Regions from separate parts of the Homo sapiens genome. Here regions 2, 3 and 4 are each linked to region 1. Evidence: promoter capture Hi-C in 16 types of primary human blood cells and fetal thymus (Javierre and others, 2016). All regions are on one chromosome and are shown on one strand. Each heading gives the region's core, a stretch centred on a gene start or on the middle of the fragment in contact. The rest is flanking DNA. Distances are from core to core; before and after follow the strand shown. Region 1 holds the start of RNF43 (ring finger protein 43). Region 2 overlaps OR4D2 (olfactory receptor family 4 subfamily D member 2). Region 3 has its middle 6.1 kb from the start of EPX. Region 4 overlaps LPO (lactoperoxidase).

Region 1 (4,050 bases), core at 628-3,127:
ACAAATGGAGGAAAAGAACATTTATGCTTCCGTTTCAGAAAGCCAAGTCGTAGTTTTGGCCCTTCCTTTCTCTAAAGTTTATTCCCAAAAACAGGTAGCATTCCTGATTGGGCAGAGAAGAGGATATTTTCAGCCCACATCTGCTGCAGGTATGTCATTTTCTCCCATCTTCACTGTGACTAGTAAAGATCTCACCACTTCTCTTTGGAATTTCCAACTTTGCTTGTGATTGAATGTCACTTCGTGAATTTGTATTATGTCAGATCACTTGGCATTGCTCTTCCATATGCATCAAGTTGCCAGGCACTAAACCCAATGTTCATGAACAAAACAAGGCAAAGTAAACAGCTAAGGCCATGCATCAAAGGTGAGCGTGAAGAACTCCAGCTCAGAAAAGGAAGGGATGGCCCTTTTTAAGCCATAATATGTGTTAATGGTAAATGACTAAATACCACAAGGAGATTTTTTTTTTAATGGAGGAGAAGAGGGAACAATAATAAAAATTTCAGGCCACACGTTGATGTCCAAAGATGCTACAATATGTATTTAGAAAAGTTTCCACATTAAACTGTATTTCAGTGTGGCCAGGTTTCTAGGCCCACTGCATTTACATACTTTTCATGAACTTAGACATACCATAATTTTTTGTGTTTTACCAAAATTTGCCTATAAATTAGGTGCTAATTTATGTATCTTCACACATTACAGGATAATCCTGAGCATCACAACCTTTTCCAACTTTCATAATTAGAGTATTTGAAAAGGTTAGCTTTCCAATTATTTTTCCCAGTTAAAATTCATATTTCCATCTCCATTTTCTTTTCTCTCTTAAGGATTCTTGATTTTATTCTCCAGCTCGGAAATGCCGAGCACTTTGATTTCCCATGAGATGCTTTTGGAAACTACTTTAATATCCAGATTTTATGATCTGTAATTTTCTAGGTTCATAAGAAAAACAAAGGACTATTCCTCACATGTATCCAAATTCCCTGAGGGGGTAGGGAATAAAAGGTAGGGGGAGCAGGGAGGCGATTAACCACAGGCTCTAGGTAGAATACCCTGAAAAAATACAAATAATCTTGAGTAGAATAGATCTGTGCTATTTCTAGGCACTATGAAAATTTGCGTCTTTGTACAAACACAGAATAAGATTTTTAAAATGTGCACCCTTAAGTAAATATAAATACACCTCACCCACAAAGCCCTCTGTGTTCCAAGGTCAAGTTTAAAAATATTATAAAGTCTTCAGAATAAGTGCTGAAAAGCCAAGCAATTGAACATGAACCTGTTATATGGATTCTTTTCTTTTGCTGAGGCAGAGGGAGGGGGGAAAAAGGAATTTCAAAAGAAATCTGCAAACCTGTTGCGCTGTCGGGCCCACTGGAATCCACGGGGGTGAAACAAATTCAATTATGCTTTTACAGATCCTGCTCAAAAAAGGTTTCAACTGCTTAACCAAGTACAGCTCATTCTTCCACCTTCTTACTCTGCAACCAAACCAAGTGCCCCATACTACAGGTAGGTGCCGAGAAATTCCGCAGCCTGAAAAAATAATCCATGCAGGTCAAAGGCAGAAATTTACTCCGGGATGAGAGATGCTGTCCCCTAGAACTAAATTAAACACTTACAGAAAATCCAAAATCATTTCTGAAACCTCCTTGCTAACAAAAGTTCTTTTTTTCTCCAAACAGCATATAAAATGATCAAGTCTTGAAAGAGAAAAGAAGCAAAGTAGCAAATACATCAACAATTCACTATCAGAAACACATAAAATCCCAGAGAGAGAGAAGGCAGTATCTCTGAATCATGGATGGACTTGGAAAGTTCGGAAGGATTCCGAGTGCTTCCTTTCAGAAAGACAATTCTGGATCAACTCCCTAGAGCAGGAAGCCTGTGGTTTGTAATTGGTGTTCTAGCTCTGACTCCCTCCCCTGGGACTGCAATCACGCTCTCTACCTGCTGACAAAGTGAGGGTGGAGCTGCTAGAGGCAACCACTCCCCACCCTGCCCCCCTCCTCCTGGTGCTCACACACAACACTTACTTAACCAGACCCGTTCTTTCGCTCTCCCCCCTCCCTCAGCTCCTCTACTCCCTCTACTGAGCCACAGCTAAACTGCATCCAATTCGATCCCGAGTACCTTTCTCTGGGTAAGCAAGCTACCACATGCAAATCAGGGCCACTCAAAGATATCTAAGCAGACTCTGCACCCAACAGAGCATAGATGATGGTATGAGGAAATAAACAGAAAAAAATAAAGGTAATCCGGAAGATAAAAGAATGGACACAAGGTTTTGCAAATATAAGTTCAAAAGGATTTCTGCTCATTCCAAGTTTGAGTGTCTATAAATGGCAGAAAGCCAGAATAAAGTGATCCTGTGTTTTAGTACTTACTGATTTATTGCTGCTTATGTCTGCTACCCTGGGAAGGGCTCTGTCCATTTTATGCTTAGCTTTTCTTCAGCTCTTACTAATTTAAATTCAGTAGCTCTGTCTAAACTGTGCCTATATGGAACTTTCAAATCAGGTTGATGTCAGATGTCTGGAATCCAACTGTTATTTTCTTTTCAATCTTTGGGAGGTGAAATAATACTATGGATCAGACCTATGCCTTCAATGTAAGACTCCAAATAAGTCCATGTCATAAATACAAGCCAAAGGGTAAAATATGATTAATGAGAAGAACATAGGCAAAAAGAAAATGAATTTCTGGCTAATTACCACATTCATGAACTATAATCCTTATTACTACCCTGCCATTAGAAATAATACAACAGTTTCTAATACATTTATAACATTTGAAGTTTCAAATTACCAGATTATATTTGACTGTGGTGAGACATTTTATTTCTGAACCGCTGCCATAAACTTTCAAAATTATACAAATGAACAACAATGTGGATATAGTTAAATCTAGTGAACTGTACACTTAAAAATGGTTATGATAGTAAATTTTATGTGTTTCTTACCTCATGTAAAAACGAATCTCTGATCATCTGTAAAATGCTGATGATAATAATTACGATAGGTCTGTTGTAAAGATTAAATGACATAATGCCTCTGAAAGCAAAAAGGATGAGTAGCCTATTGACCTTCAACATTGTTTCCCCTGTAGATAAGGTTTATGACAGTAGTTTCAGAATTTCAGATCTAATAACTAACCTAGATCAAAGACAAATTCGAAAATAAATTTTTTGTTTATTTTTGTTGTTTGAGACAGGGTCTTGTGTTACCCACGCTGGAGCACAGTTGTGCCATCATGGCTCACTGCAGCCTTGACCTTCATGGCCTCCCACCTCAGCCTCCAGAGTAGCTGGGATCACAGGTGCGTCCCACCACACCCTGCAAATTTTTTTTTTTTTTTTTTTGAGACGGAGTCCCGCTCTGTTGCCCAGGCTGGAGTGCAGTGGCGCTATCTCGGCTCACTGCAAGCTCCGCCTCCCGGTTCATGCCATTCTCCTGCCTCAGCCTCCCGAGTAGCTGGGATTACAGGCGCCCGCCACCACGCCCAGCTAATTTTTTGTATTTTTAGTAGAGACGGGGTTTCACCGTGTTAGCCAGGATGGTCTCCATCTCCTGACCTTGTGATCCACCCGCCTCGGTCTCCCAAAGTGCTGGGATTACAGGCGTGAGCCACTGCGCCTGGCCAACACCCTGCAAATTTAAAAAAAATTTTTGTTGGGCCAGGCGTGGTGACTCACGCCTATAATCCCAGCACTTTGGTTGACCAAGGTGGGTGGATCACGAGGTCGGGAATTTGAGACCAGCCTGACCAACATAGTTTAATTTAACATAGTTAAACTAAAAAATAACCTACAAATGGGCTTTGCCTCATCTATTCCTGCTTAAAACGTGCAAAGGAATGAAAAGACCTAGCCCTAGTAATTAATACACACACTTAATTGACAGAAAGAAGACAGTTACAAATGTGGTTGCCCTCTCTTGAGGAAACTCTGAGATTTGGAAATGATGATGATATGCATCATGAACCTGGAGACTTGGAGAAACTCAAGATCAAACCAAACAGCTCTATGTAGCTTAGTTCACTGTT
Region 2 (4,050 bases), core at 987-3,486, 250 kb before region 1:
TATTCCTTCATCTCCCTTTATTCCTTTGTCTATTTCTATTTGTTTTCTTTCAACAACTTCCTTTGTCTCCCACCCTTGGATTCAGTAACATCTTGTAAAATTCCTGTTTCATTCAGAAGCTCTCTGAGTCCCCTTCATACAATATTCATCATCTATTTCTCAATCCAATGACTCTCCCTCCCTTTTCTCCCTCTTGTCTCAGCACCACCACATATGCCTCACTCATAAGGGGCCGCCCACAGTGGAGGGCAGGGGAACTACTGGATGTCTCAGGCATCCAGCTGCATCCAGTGTCTTCCTTGTGCTGAACTTGTGCACCTGATAGCTATTCACCCATGCAGCAGTCAACACCAAGAGCTTTTTAAGTTAACTGTCATTAAGAATGGGTACTGCAGGGCACAAATAAATTGTGAGATCCAGATATAGGCTTTGGACTTAATAGTTGAATTGTGGAGGGAAAATATAGACAAGGAAAATCCATTAACACGATGATGTATTAAATGTCATGTGAAAAATAATTGGCAAAGAATCTTATTACAGAGTGGAAGAGAGGATATCTTTAGATTAAGAGAATTCACACAGGTGAGTAATTGCCATTGATTATTCCATACACTGTTTTAGGAACTTTATATCTATCATTCTACTTAAGTCCTCAGAAAATTCTACAAAGCAGGTATTTTTATTTCTACCTTACAAATTCCCGTGAAAACTGAGGCCCAGAAAGATTAAGTAAGTTACTCATGGTCAAATCACAATGAAATGAAAGACCTGAAATTTGACTTCAGATGTATCTGACTCCAAGTGTCTTCCCACCACTATATGAATCTTTGAAAGGCAGGTTGTATATACTTCTGGATGGCGTTAAGATTTCAGGAATGTATATTCCAGCACCCACTTGTAAACGATCCAGAGACAAGACAGCACCTAGTATAATGGTCTACACATAAGGATGCTCATCATATGGGCCTAAAACCTTGGTTCTGAGCCCCTGAGCCCTGAAAGGGAAAGTAGTGACTTCATGTATCTGTGTCTGTGGTTCATTTTCTTCAGGTGTATGGAGAAAACACCATGGAAACAGGGAACCTCACGTGGGTATCAGACTTTGTCTTCCTGGGGCTCTCGCAGACTCGGGAGCTCCAGCGTTTCCTGTTTCTAATGTTCCTGTTTGTCTACATCACCACTGTTATGGGAAACATCCTTATCATCATCACAGTGACCTCTGATTCCCAGCTCCACACACCCATGTACTTTCTGCTCCGAAACCTGGCTGTCCTAGACCTCTGTTTCTCTTCAGTCACTGCTCCCAAAATGCTAGTGGACCTCCTCTCTGAGAAGAAAACCATCTCTTACCAGGGCTGCATGGGTCAGATCTTCTTCTTCCACTTTTTGGGAGGTGCCATGGTCTTCTTCCTCTCAGTGATGGCCTTTGACCGCCTCATTGCCATCTCCCGGCCCCTCCGCTATGTCACCGTCATGAACACTCAGCTCTGGGTGGGGCTGGTGGTAGCCACCTGGGTGGGAGGCTTTGTCCACTCTATTGTCCAGCTGGCTCTGATGCTCCCACTGCCCTTCTGTGGCCCCAACATTTTGGATAACTTCTACTGTGATGTTCCCCAAGTACTGAGACTTGCCTGCACTGACACCTCACTGCTGGAGTTCCTCAAGATCTCCAACAGTGGGCTGCTGGATGTCGTCTGGTTCTTCCTCCTCCTGATGTCCTACTTATTCATCCTGGTGATGCTGAGGTCACATCCAGGGGAGGCAAGAAGGAAGGCAGCTTCCACCTGCACCACCCACATCATCGTGGTTTCCATGATCTTCGTTCCAAGCATTTACCTCTATGCCCGGCCCTTCACTCCATTCCCTATGGACAAGCTTGTGTCCATCGGCCACACAGTCATGACCCCCATGCTCAACCCCATGATCTATACCCTGAGGAACCAGGACATGCAGGCAGCAGTGAGAAGATTAGGGAGACACCGGCTGGTTTGAGAGTGACAATGGTAGGTTTCTTCTCTTTGGCTTTGTTTTCCCTTTGTGAAGTGGAGAGGGAGCTACTACCTTTGCTCTCTTCATAGTGTGTTGAGGTTCATCATAGCAGGGAATGAATTTTGAAACTAAGCAACTTCGTGTTTTAGGAAAAAAGAAAGTATCCTCTTTGGTGGTTAAGGTTTGTGATAAAGAGTTTTAACACACTCGCAACAATGAGAATTGTTCACATGGCCCCTGAAAACCACACCTTCCTTTTCACCTTCTTGGTGGACAGTTTCCTGTTGACAGCATTTCCCCTGTGCGAACATTTCTATTTTCCGTATTTTGAGCTCTCTTCCCAATATTTCCTTTTGGTGTGAGTCTGGGTTGTTGGGAACAGCACAGAATTTGGAGTCTTAAGCTCTAAATTAGAGGCCCTGACCCATCATTGACCAAACTGATGACTTCGAGTAAGCCACCCAGCTTTTCTTGGCCTCATGATTTCTCCCTCACCAATTTGCTTAAATTAGTATGTGCCCCTAAAATATTCTATGTTTGTTATGAGATTCAAATAAAAAAATTTTGTGATAAAACAACAAGTAAATCATATAACTATATGTTATCTTCCAAGCTTTTAAAAATGATTGTATTTTATTTTCAAATATGAAATTATTATGAGTATTCAAGCTTTTTCTCTCTATATTTACATTTTAATATAATATACAAATTTTGAATAAAAGATCATGGGCAATGCATGCACATTATGAAACTTATGTCATTATGTATAAATGCTCATGTATACACTACTCGATTCAAGAACCAGAAGTTACCAATAACTTGCCTTCACCTGTATTGTCCTCTCCATTGTGTTCACCTTGATTCCTATCCAGAAGAAATCACTCTGTTGAATTTCATGTTTATCACTTCATTGCTTGTATAAAATAGTTTCATCACTTTTTTTACATAAACAGTATATTGTTTTGCTACTTTGGAGTTTTATAAAGATATTGTACTGTACATAATATTCTGGGATTTGCTTTTTTCACTCCATGTTATGTTTCTAACATAACATGTTGATGTTTGGCTCTAATTCATTCATTTGCTCTGCTGTAGAATATTCCACTGTGAAAATAAGTTTATTTGGGTTGTTTCCAGGTTTTGGCTATTGGAGAGTGCTTTTTTTGAGACGAAGTTTCACTCTGCTGCCGAGGCCGGAGTTCACTCATCACCACACCCAGCTAAGTTTTGCATTTTCAGTAGAGATGGGGTTTCTCCATGTTGGAGTTGTGACCATTATTGCCTAAACTATTTTTACTGCGCCTTTCTCTCCTCTTCTTCCAGGATTCTCATTATGTGTGTGTCTTGGTATCCTTGATGGTGTCTCACAGGCTTCTGAGCCTATGTTCATTTTCGTTTATTCTTCTTTTTGCTCCTTAGACTGGATGATTTCAATTGACCTATAATATCTCTAGACCTCTGATTCCGAAATGCCATCATAGAGGAAAATTGGATTCACTCCCCGACTTCCACAGAACCAAAAACAAATATATAGCACTGAGATCTACACCAGAAACAACCCAGAGCTCAAGTATAAGAGTGAGACAGTTCTTGGGGCCACAGAGGGATGAAAAAAGTCCAAGCAGCTGATAGGAGAATCAGACTTCCACATCTGGGACACCCCTCATCCCCATTCTGTCCAGCACCAAGTGCCAAAAAATCTCCTCCCAACTACAGTTTCTACACTGGAAAAACTGAAATTGAGGTGGCCCACCAGCTTCCTTACCTTCTTGGGGTCCCTGGCAGGAGAACTGTTCTTGCCTTAATCCACAGATAGCATCATGACTGCCTGAAAGAAGAAATGTCCCCGAAGAAAGGCAGAGAAATTCTGCTCTGTAACTCAGCCAAAGGAGACACCAACTCAGAGTTGCTGTCCAGCAGCACCATGCTGTAGGAGGCATGTTCCCCAGGTCCCCTGGGCACAAACCCCTAGCCAGACTTCCCACACTGCCAGGATAATCTCTTTGGGATCTCCTTGATTTGAGACAGGAAGTGCTTCAACCATTTACTAGTCCTGAGGTG
Region 3 (4,050 bases), core at 990-3,489, 230 kb before region 1:
TCAACCATCGAACAAGTCCCAGTCAGCAGCTCCCGCCTCAGAGGGTTGTTATAAGGACTCAGGCAAGAGCAGTAAAGCACAGGGCGCTGGGCTGGCATACAGCAAGAGGCGAGGGGCAAGGAATTGCCCCGGTCAGCTGTGCCCCCTCCTGCTAGAGTCCAGCACTACCAGGGCTCCAGTCACACTGGCAGTGCCCCATGGGTCACATGCCCCACTAGCCTTCCTACTCGTTACTTCATTGATCTAAAGCAAGGTCTGTCTCTTCTGCAAGCCCACAGACCCTCTCCCATGCCCCAGGCCCTGCCCTTGGGAGCTCCTAGTCTGATGGAGGAGGTGAGGTACAAACTGTCACATCAGGCCAAGGCAGGAGGGAGGAGAGAGGGGACAGGTGCTTGCCCTCAGCTGGCCCTCTAGTGTGGACCTGTGCACCTCCCAAGTGCTCACCAGAGAGCCCTCCTGCCCCCGCGATCTTCTTCTTGCCCTTTAGTGACTTTACTAGCAGATCAGAGAGGCCAAGCCCTTGCTCAACGTCACACGGTCAGAAGTGGTGCCAGACCCCCAGGCCAGCTCTCCAAGTCCCCGAACTGAGTTTTCTTCAGCCTTGCTAAAGGCAGAGGACTGAGAGCTTCCTTGGTCAGGAGAGTCCTCATCTCTGGACCACACATGTACACATGTGTACATATACACATGCACACATGTGCACAAACTCCTGGCCTGCCTCAGCCTCTGGTACAGTGTGGGGCCACTGCAGTTTGAGCCAGAACCCTCCTCCCTGCACACCCTCAGTGTTCTCATGAAAATAGGGCCAAGGACCTCATTCTCAGGAAGCCCTGGGAGCAGAAGCAGGCCCTTCAGGCCCCGCACTTTGGCCAGTCCCTGCTGTCTCAGTTGGGGCCGTTGGAGCTGAGCAGATAAAGAGATCTAATCAGGCCTGTGGCCAGCAGCTCCACCATGGACGGTTCTTGTGAAAGCAGAAGCTTGAAGTTTTGAGCTGGCCAGGGGAGGGTAGGCAGGTGTGGAGGATATTGGGTATTGCAGCTGAAAGATGCCCAGGAAGGAAAGCTCCCTCATGGTCTAGGGGCTGGATACTGACCAGGCAGGGCCAGGCCTGCCACAGCATCCACTGACCCAGGGCTGGCCTGGCCCCGAAAGAACAATGCCCCTGACAAAAGGCACTGAATCCTGACGGATGTACAGGCACAATCCATTCCCTGACTCAAGAGCCAGCCATGAAAATCAAGGTGAGAGCAAATGCATTCATTCCACAAATACATATTCAGCCTCTGCCAGGTATTGTGTTAGGTAATGAGGTTACAGTGAGCATCAAAACAGGCACACACCTGTTTTCTGTGACACTCACAGACCTGCAGGGACTGGAGCTTAGTCAAATCCAACCCTAGAGATATGTGTTTAATGATGTTACTCTCTAGGAAGGGAGCTACAAAAGTAAGGAATGGGAAGGACCAGACTGTGGAGGTGGGACAGAAAAGCTCTCTGTGGATAAGACCCAGAGGATGAATAAGAGTTGGCCAGGCAAACAGACGGAAGAGGCTTCATGGTTATGACCCAAAACAGGAAGGAAATAGGCCTGTTTTGGGGACTGTAAGCCAGTGGGTTCAGAGGGCAGAGGAATAGAGGGTGAGGGGATGGGACACTGGAGAGGAAACTGGCAGGTGCCAGACTGTGCAAATCCCTGCGGGTTCCCTTTCCTTAGGAGCAACTGCAGCAGAGGCGACTGGATGTTTACAGGACCAGTGGTGCCAGATCTCCCAAGGCCTCATACTCCCATAGCCACCAGGGAGGGAGGGACAGCAGCAACCAGAGGGCCGGCTGGTCAGGGCCCTCTTCCCCAAAAACACCTCTACCTTCTCTGTCCCCTTCATTCCCAGTCTCCAAGCAGCCTTGTTTTCTCCTGTCGCCCCAAGAGCAGTCTTTCTGGTGGGTCTCATTACAAACATTTCCTCCTGTGTAGCTTGGTCTTGGACATTTCTTTTGCCCATTTCCCTTTCTGGAGAAGAGCTCTCCCACACAACTCCCAAGCCTCTGAAGTCCAACCAGGTCCCAGGCCTGTAGGGAGCCTGGCCCAGGCCCAGCAGCGGGTTCTGGACTCCACTTATTGAGGGAAGAGCTCACACAGGCCTTGAAGGGAGCCGGGCTTCCCACATGCCCAGCCCTGGGAGGTGTCCCAAGTGATGTCCCCAGCAGGTGGCCTCCATGTCCAGTGGGTTGTCCATCCTCACCTCCCTTGGACAGCACCCGCTCTAACCACCCACCTGGCCAGCCTTGCAATGGAGATGGCCTCAGGACCCACTTGGTGCCCACCCTAAGGCTCTTCGTTCTCTACATCACCTCGTGGTGGCACCCCCACCCCTGCCCCACCCCACCCACCTGGCTTATCAAGGTCAAAACCCTGGGAGTGGCTGAACTGCCATCTGGAGAAGGAAGGAGATTTGGGATGTGGGGAGGGAAGGGGACCTGTCTTCCTTTCCAGGGTGAAAAAGGGTGTGTGGACTCACAGAGTTAGTCTGTGACGTGGTTCACTCATGTTCCACAAACATTTCTGAGCGCTGGCCCTGGGCCCAACCCTGTGGTGGGTACAAGGTATGCAGCTGTAAATGAGACCAGGACTGGGGATCAGTGGCCAGTCCAGGAGACGGACACGGTGACAGCATGCCTTCAGTACAGCACAGTATGTGTTGAGGGAAGTATCAGCATCAGGTGCCCCACAGACAAAAATGGGGTGTCTAATTCAGATCATATCTGGGGAGTGAAAAGGAAAGGGATGAGAGAAGGCTACCTGGAGAAAGTAATGACGCGGCTCAGTTGGGAAGATGAGTAGAAGTTAATCAGGCAAAGGGAACACGTGCAAGGACCCAGGGGAGAGGGGAACACGGTGCATCAGAAACCTTCGGGGGATGAAGCTGGAGTGTGGAGGAAGGGTGGTGGAAGAGGTGAGGGCAGAGGCTGGAGAAGTCCTCCAGGGCCTAGGAAGCCATGGAAGGATTTGGAGTTCCCTGTACTGCTGCTGAAGGAATATCATGAATAGACCCCACAGACTGTGACCCTGCCCACTAGGACCCTGGACGGGCTGGGCTCATCCCAGGACACCCATGAGCAATTCCTTCTCTACCTCCAGTGCTCTCCTCTTCCCTCTCCCTGGGAAACCAGAGTGTGTTGAAGGCGGGGTGGGGCAAGGGTATGGAAGGACACGAAAGCCTCCCAACTTGTCACTTAGCAAAGGTAATTAGACGGGACAAATGCCAGTACCAAGGACAGGGCAGAGGAAGCCACCCGTTCCAGGGCAGAAAATAAGGGGTTCGTCATCTATAGGAAGTTTACAAGAAATAACAACACAGATAAAAGGTCAGGCTGCTTACGATGATCACCATGCAGGGGCAAGTTTACATAATTTCAGAGCTCAAATCCTGCTCCCCAAAGAAATCTTGTGTTGGTCTAGATTCTAAACCATTGCTGTGATTACCATTGGGCTTAGTAATATGTGGAAGCTTCAAGTTAATGCACTTTTATTGCTTATCCTTTAAGAAGCACTGTCTTCCATGTGGAAGTTGGTTGGGAGAATTCCCAGTCATACAGTGGCTCGCTTGGCTGAGTATGTTCCCTCTGAGGATGGGCTGATGGCTCAGATTCCTCTGAGCGGTCTTTGGTGCAACGTGCGCCTCCTGCCCCTGTTAGCACTGTAGATTCTTGCATTTAAACAGCTCGTTCGATATAAACAATGATAGCACAGTGATTGTAAAGATGAGGAGACAGAACTTGATTTTTAAGTGCAAATTTTACTTCATACATGAAATATTGTACTGAATTTGAATAATTACTTTAAGATCTAATTTATTCTTCTAAGTTTGTAATTGTTCATTTTAAAACTAATGAATGGATCAAGAAGACAGAAAATGTAATGACATATTAAATATTAAAACTACAAATATGTATGTAGATTTCCCCTTTATTTAAAATGCATTCATGTAATTTAAAAGTATTAATTCATTATACTTTTCTTTTGTATATTATTTATTTGTTTATTTTGTTATG
Region 4 (4,050 bases), core at 523-3,022, 170 kb before region 1:
CTCTTGAACATTGTGTTCTCATTTTCTTCCCTGTAAAATGGGAATAAAATGTATTACCTTAATGTGCTGTCAGATTAATTGAGAAACCACTTGAGAAACGCTTACTTAGAATGGAATGCATTCCAAAACATGCAGGTTCACCTCTGGTCTCCATTTCCTGCCTCCCACGGGTGCCTGTGAATGGAGAAAGAACTCAGTCCCTTTGGGGTCCCTTCTGTTTCAGATCCCAGCCTGGACTTGACTTCACTGTCTCTGGAGGTGGGCTGTGGTGCTCCTGCTCCCGTGGTGAGATGCGACCCGTGCAGCCCTTACCGCACCATTACGGGAGACTGCAATAACAGGTGGCGGGGCTTGGGGTGTGGGGGCCGACCATTCCAGCCACTCCGCCCCGCCCTGCCAAGGCCTTTGTCCCTTGGGCACTCTAGGCAGATCTGCCACTGCCTTGCCCACCTGGGCTGGCGTTCCCACCTTCCCCACCTTCTCAAGATCGCGCGTCTCCAGCCCTCTCCCTCCAGCCCACTGTGTGTCTCTGGAAGCGGCACCTTTCCCCGGGGCGGGGGAGCCCCGCGCCTTCAGGGGGTGGGCGCAGTTCAGAGACCCCAAATTTGAGAGGCCCCCTTCTCTGCGTCCCCTCCGCCTCGAGCAGAGGCTCCTTCCCCCATGGGGTCCTGGGCTTTGGAGCCCCGGAGCCGGCCTGCCGAAGCTCAGCGAGGATCGTGCTGGTTTCAGGAGGAAGCCTGCGCTGGGCGCCGCCAACAGGGCTCTGGCGCGCTGGCTGCCCGCGGAGTACGAGGACGGGCTCTCCCTGCCCTTCGGCTGGACGCCGGGGAAGACGCGCAACGGCTTCCCTCTCCCGCTGGTGAGGGCAGGCCGGGCCGGGGTGAAGGATGGGAGCCAGAGGGGACGGGATGCACTACCCAAACACGCAGTGAAAGGAGGAGGAGGGATCGGTGGGGGCAGCAGGGGTGCGCGATGGAGATCTGCACAGACCCCCACCTTCCGCTAGAGGGCAGCAGAGCTCGGAGCCCGGAGCCCGGCCACGTGGCGGTCACGTTCTGGCCGCCGCAGGCCAGATACCCTGGGGTCTCCCGGGCAGATGGCCTCCCTGCCCCATCCCGCTCGCACTTACCCCAGCCCCCGCCCCTGGAGTGCATCAGCTGTTGTTTGCCTGGAGGTCCTATTTGTTGGCCTTATCGAGCTGGCAGCCCCTACCCAGAGCCCCTCTCCTATTCCTGGACACCTGGCACCTCCGTAGCTCGCATTTCAGAGGCAGCCTGTCTTTGTTTTCCCTCTCTTAGTGGAAAGGGCACCGGCTTGGCAAATCATCAAGTCATACGGATCTGGGTTCAATCCCATCCCTGTCCCTTTGTAGCGGCAGGACCTTGGAGAACTGACTTCACCTGTCCAGGATTCAATCTCCCCCTCTACAGAATAGGCTAATGCCACCCACCTCACAAACTCCTTGTAGGGATTAAGTGCACTTGTAACATGGTAGGTAGTTAATAAGCTGTAGTTGCATCTGAATCCTCAAAGCACTTTTTCCTCTAATCTGCCCTCCCCTTCTCTCTCCATCTGTAGGCCCGGGAGGTATCTAACAAGATTGTTGGCTATCTGAATGAGGAGGGTGTTCTGGACCAAAACAGGTCCCTGCTCTTCATGCAGTGGGGTCAGATTGTGGATCATGACCTGGACTTTGCCCCTGACACCGAGCTGGGGAGTAGCGAGTACTCCAAAGCCCAGTGTGATGAGTACTGTATCCAGGGAGACAACTGCTTCCCCATCATGGTACGGCCCTGCAGCTAGGCATCTCTGACTAGCCCCTTGCCCACCCTGATGTAGCAGACATTCCCAGCTCATCAGCTAGGATCTCTGGATAGATCTGGGATACTGATTTGGTAGTTTCCCATGCCTCACGTGTCCATTCGTTCACTCATCCGTTTATTCAGTAAATAGACATTGACCACCCCATACCAGGCAGTGCACTAAGCGCTGAGGATTCCAAAGTGAACAGGACACCGCTCCTGCTCTCAAGAACAAAGGGCCAGTGTGGGAATTGGACAAGTAAACTACTGATAGCAGAATGGGAACACTGGAGAAGGTTGTCTACATTCCCGACCCAGCAGCATTGGTAAAACCTGCTTATTAGAAATGTAAAATCTCAGTTGGGCGAGGCGGCTCATGCCTATAATCCCAGCACTTGGGGAGGCTGAGGTGGACAGATCACCTGAGGTCAAGAGTTTGAGACCAGCCTGGCCAACATGGTGAAACCCCGTCTCTACTAAAAATACAAAAATTAGCCTGGCGAGGTGGCACATGCATGTGGTCCCAGCTACTCAGGAGGTTGAGGCAGGAGAACCGCTTGAACCTGGGAGGCGGAGGTTGCAGTGAGCCGAGATCACGCCACTGCACTCCAGCCTGGGCAACAGAGCAAGATTCCAACTCAAAAAAGAAAAAAGAAAAAGAAAAAAAAAATGCAAAATCTCAAGTCTCACCCAAGATGTTAGGAAATAGATTCTACATTTTTACCAAGATCAACAGAGATTCATTTTATACATGATAAAGTTTATACTGCTGTACATCATCGTGGAGGATGACTTCAACTCCACTCAGAAGGACTTGAAACCTGGATGAATCCGAGTGAGCAGCAGGGATTTGTAGGGATTTCCATCCGGAAGGGAGAGGAGCTTGCAGCAATGCATCTTTTCTTATTATTCATGGGTATTACAGTTGGAGAGTCATTTCTTCACTCAAAGAATAAATCGAGGCTATGTGCTGTGGTATAAAGAGCATAAACTGTGGAATGAAGCCAATGATCTGAATCCTACATCTTTCCCTTCCAGTGTATAAGTTCTTAGGCAACTTACTTAACTTTTCTGAGCCCCAGTTTTCTCATCTATAAAATGGAACTGAATTGTCCACCTTACAGGGTTTTTTTGAGGACTGAGATGAGTTAAAGTATGCATAATTCCTGGCACATGGTAAGTCCAAAATAAATACATGGCAGCTGTTGTTAGTAGTAATTATTAACAAACCTGTTCCCACCTCGTGTCCTGCTTTCCTGTCCAGGGAGCTCAATACTCCCTCCTCACCAGAAATTTGGAGCCCTCACTGTGAGGACTGAATGATTACCCTCAGTTCTTTCACACAACAGGATGTAATGAACTTCAGGATATTATGAGCCCAGGGTGTGTAATGTCAGCAAGAAGTGTCTGGGGTCAGTGTCTGGTACCAGGGTCCTAGGAGGGTGCCATCAGCATCTTTGCATCCAGACTTGCCCTGGGGAGAGGTTGCCAGGACCCAGCTGTTCCACCCCTGCCCAGTCACTTATGCCCACTCTCTCTGCAGTTCCCACCCAATGACCCCAAGGCGGGGACTCAAGGGAAATGCATGCCTTTCTTCCGAGCTGGGTTCGTCTGCCCCACTCCACCCTACAAGTCCCTGGCCCGAGAGCAGATCAACGCTCTGACCTCCTTCCTGGATGCCAGCTTTGTGTACAGCTCCGAGCCAAGCCTGGCCAGCCGCCTCCGCAACCTCAGCAGCCCCCTGGGCCTCATGGCTGTCAACCAGGAGGTCTCAGACCATGGACTACCCTACCTGCCCTATGACAGCAAGAAGCCAAGCCCCTGTGAGTTCATCAACACCACTGCCCGTGTGCCCTGCTTCCTGGCAGGTGAGTCTAGCCTGGGAACAGAAGGGCCCAAGGACAAGGGGATTATCCAGGGAAGCTTTACCACTGCCCCCTTCTTGTCATCTTTCTGGAAAAATGCACACTGAGCCATTGCTGTCCCTAGCAGTGGTCCAGGACTAGCAGAAGGGCCCAGATGAATAAAGAATTCCAGAACATATGTTCACTGTAAAACAAAATCAGGAAGTCCAGAAAAGTAACAAAGAAAATAAAAAGAAAGTGCCAGGCTTGGTGGCTCACGCCTGTAATCCCAGCACTTTGGGAGGCCGAGGCAGGCAGATCATGAGGTCACGAGATCGAGACCATCCTGGCTAACATGGTGAAACCCCGTCTCTTCTAAAAACACAAAAAATTAGCCGGGCGTG

The links. The method cuts DNA at HindIII sites, captures the fragments that hold promoters and counts their contacts. A CHiCAGO score of 5 or more calls a contact.
Region 2: a contact is called between a fragment that was not itself captured here and the fragment with the promoter of RNF43 in region 1, in 1 of 17 cell types (M1 macrophages). The highest score is 5.5, in M1 macrophages.
Region 3: a fragment that was not itself captured here is called in contact with the fragment with the promoter of RNF43 in region 1 in 1 of 17 cell types (M2 macrophages); the score reaches 5.1 in M2 macrophages.
Region 4: a fragment that was not itself captured here is called in contact with the fragment with the promoter of RNF43 in region 1 in 3 of 17 cell types (M2 macrophages, neutrophils and monocytes); the score reaches 5.9 in M2 macrophages.

What each region holds. Positions count from the first base shown.
Region 1 is chr17:58,415,657-58,419,706 of GRCh38, forward strand. It overlaps RNF43 (ring finger protein 43), which reads right to left and starts at 1,878. Exons shown (of 10, transcript NM_017763.6): 1 at 1,361-1,878; 2 at 1-306. The HindIII fragment of the contact is 6,426 bases long and covers 1-4,050 here.
Region 2 is chr17:58,168,588-58,172,637 of GRCh38, forward strand. OR4D2 (olfactory receptor family 4 subfamily D member 2) reads left to right here. Exons shown (of 2, transcript NM_001004707.4): 2 at 1,051-2,529. The coding sequence starts at 1,069. The coding sequence ends at 1,992. Among named protein-coding and RNA genes, the nearest start is that of OR4D2, 3.6 kb to the left of the region's middle. The HindIII fragment of the contact is 727 bases long and covers 1,874-2,600 here.
Region 3 is chr17:58,184,641-58,188,690 of GRCh38, forward strand. No RefSeq gene overlaps it. Among named protein-coding and RNA genes, the nearest start is that of EPX, 6.1 kb to the right of the region's middle. RefSeq lists an enhancer at 1-181. The HindIII fragment of the contact is 2,529 bases long and covers 976-3,504 here.
Region 4 is chr17:58,248,837-58,252,886 of GRCh38, forward strand. It overlaps LPO (lactoperoxidase), which reads left to right. Exons shown (of 13, transcript NM_006151.3): 5 at 224-341; 6 at 730-859; 7 at 1,579-1,785; 8 at 3,346-3,670. It overlaps LOC124904038 (a long non-coding RNA gene), which reads right to left and starts at 248. Exons shown (of 3, transcript XR_007065862.1): 1 at 106-248. RefSeq lists enhancers at 1-513, 644-713. The HindIII fragment of the contact is 3,901 bases long and covers 1-3,723 here.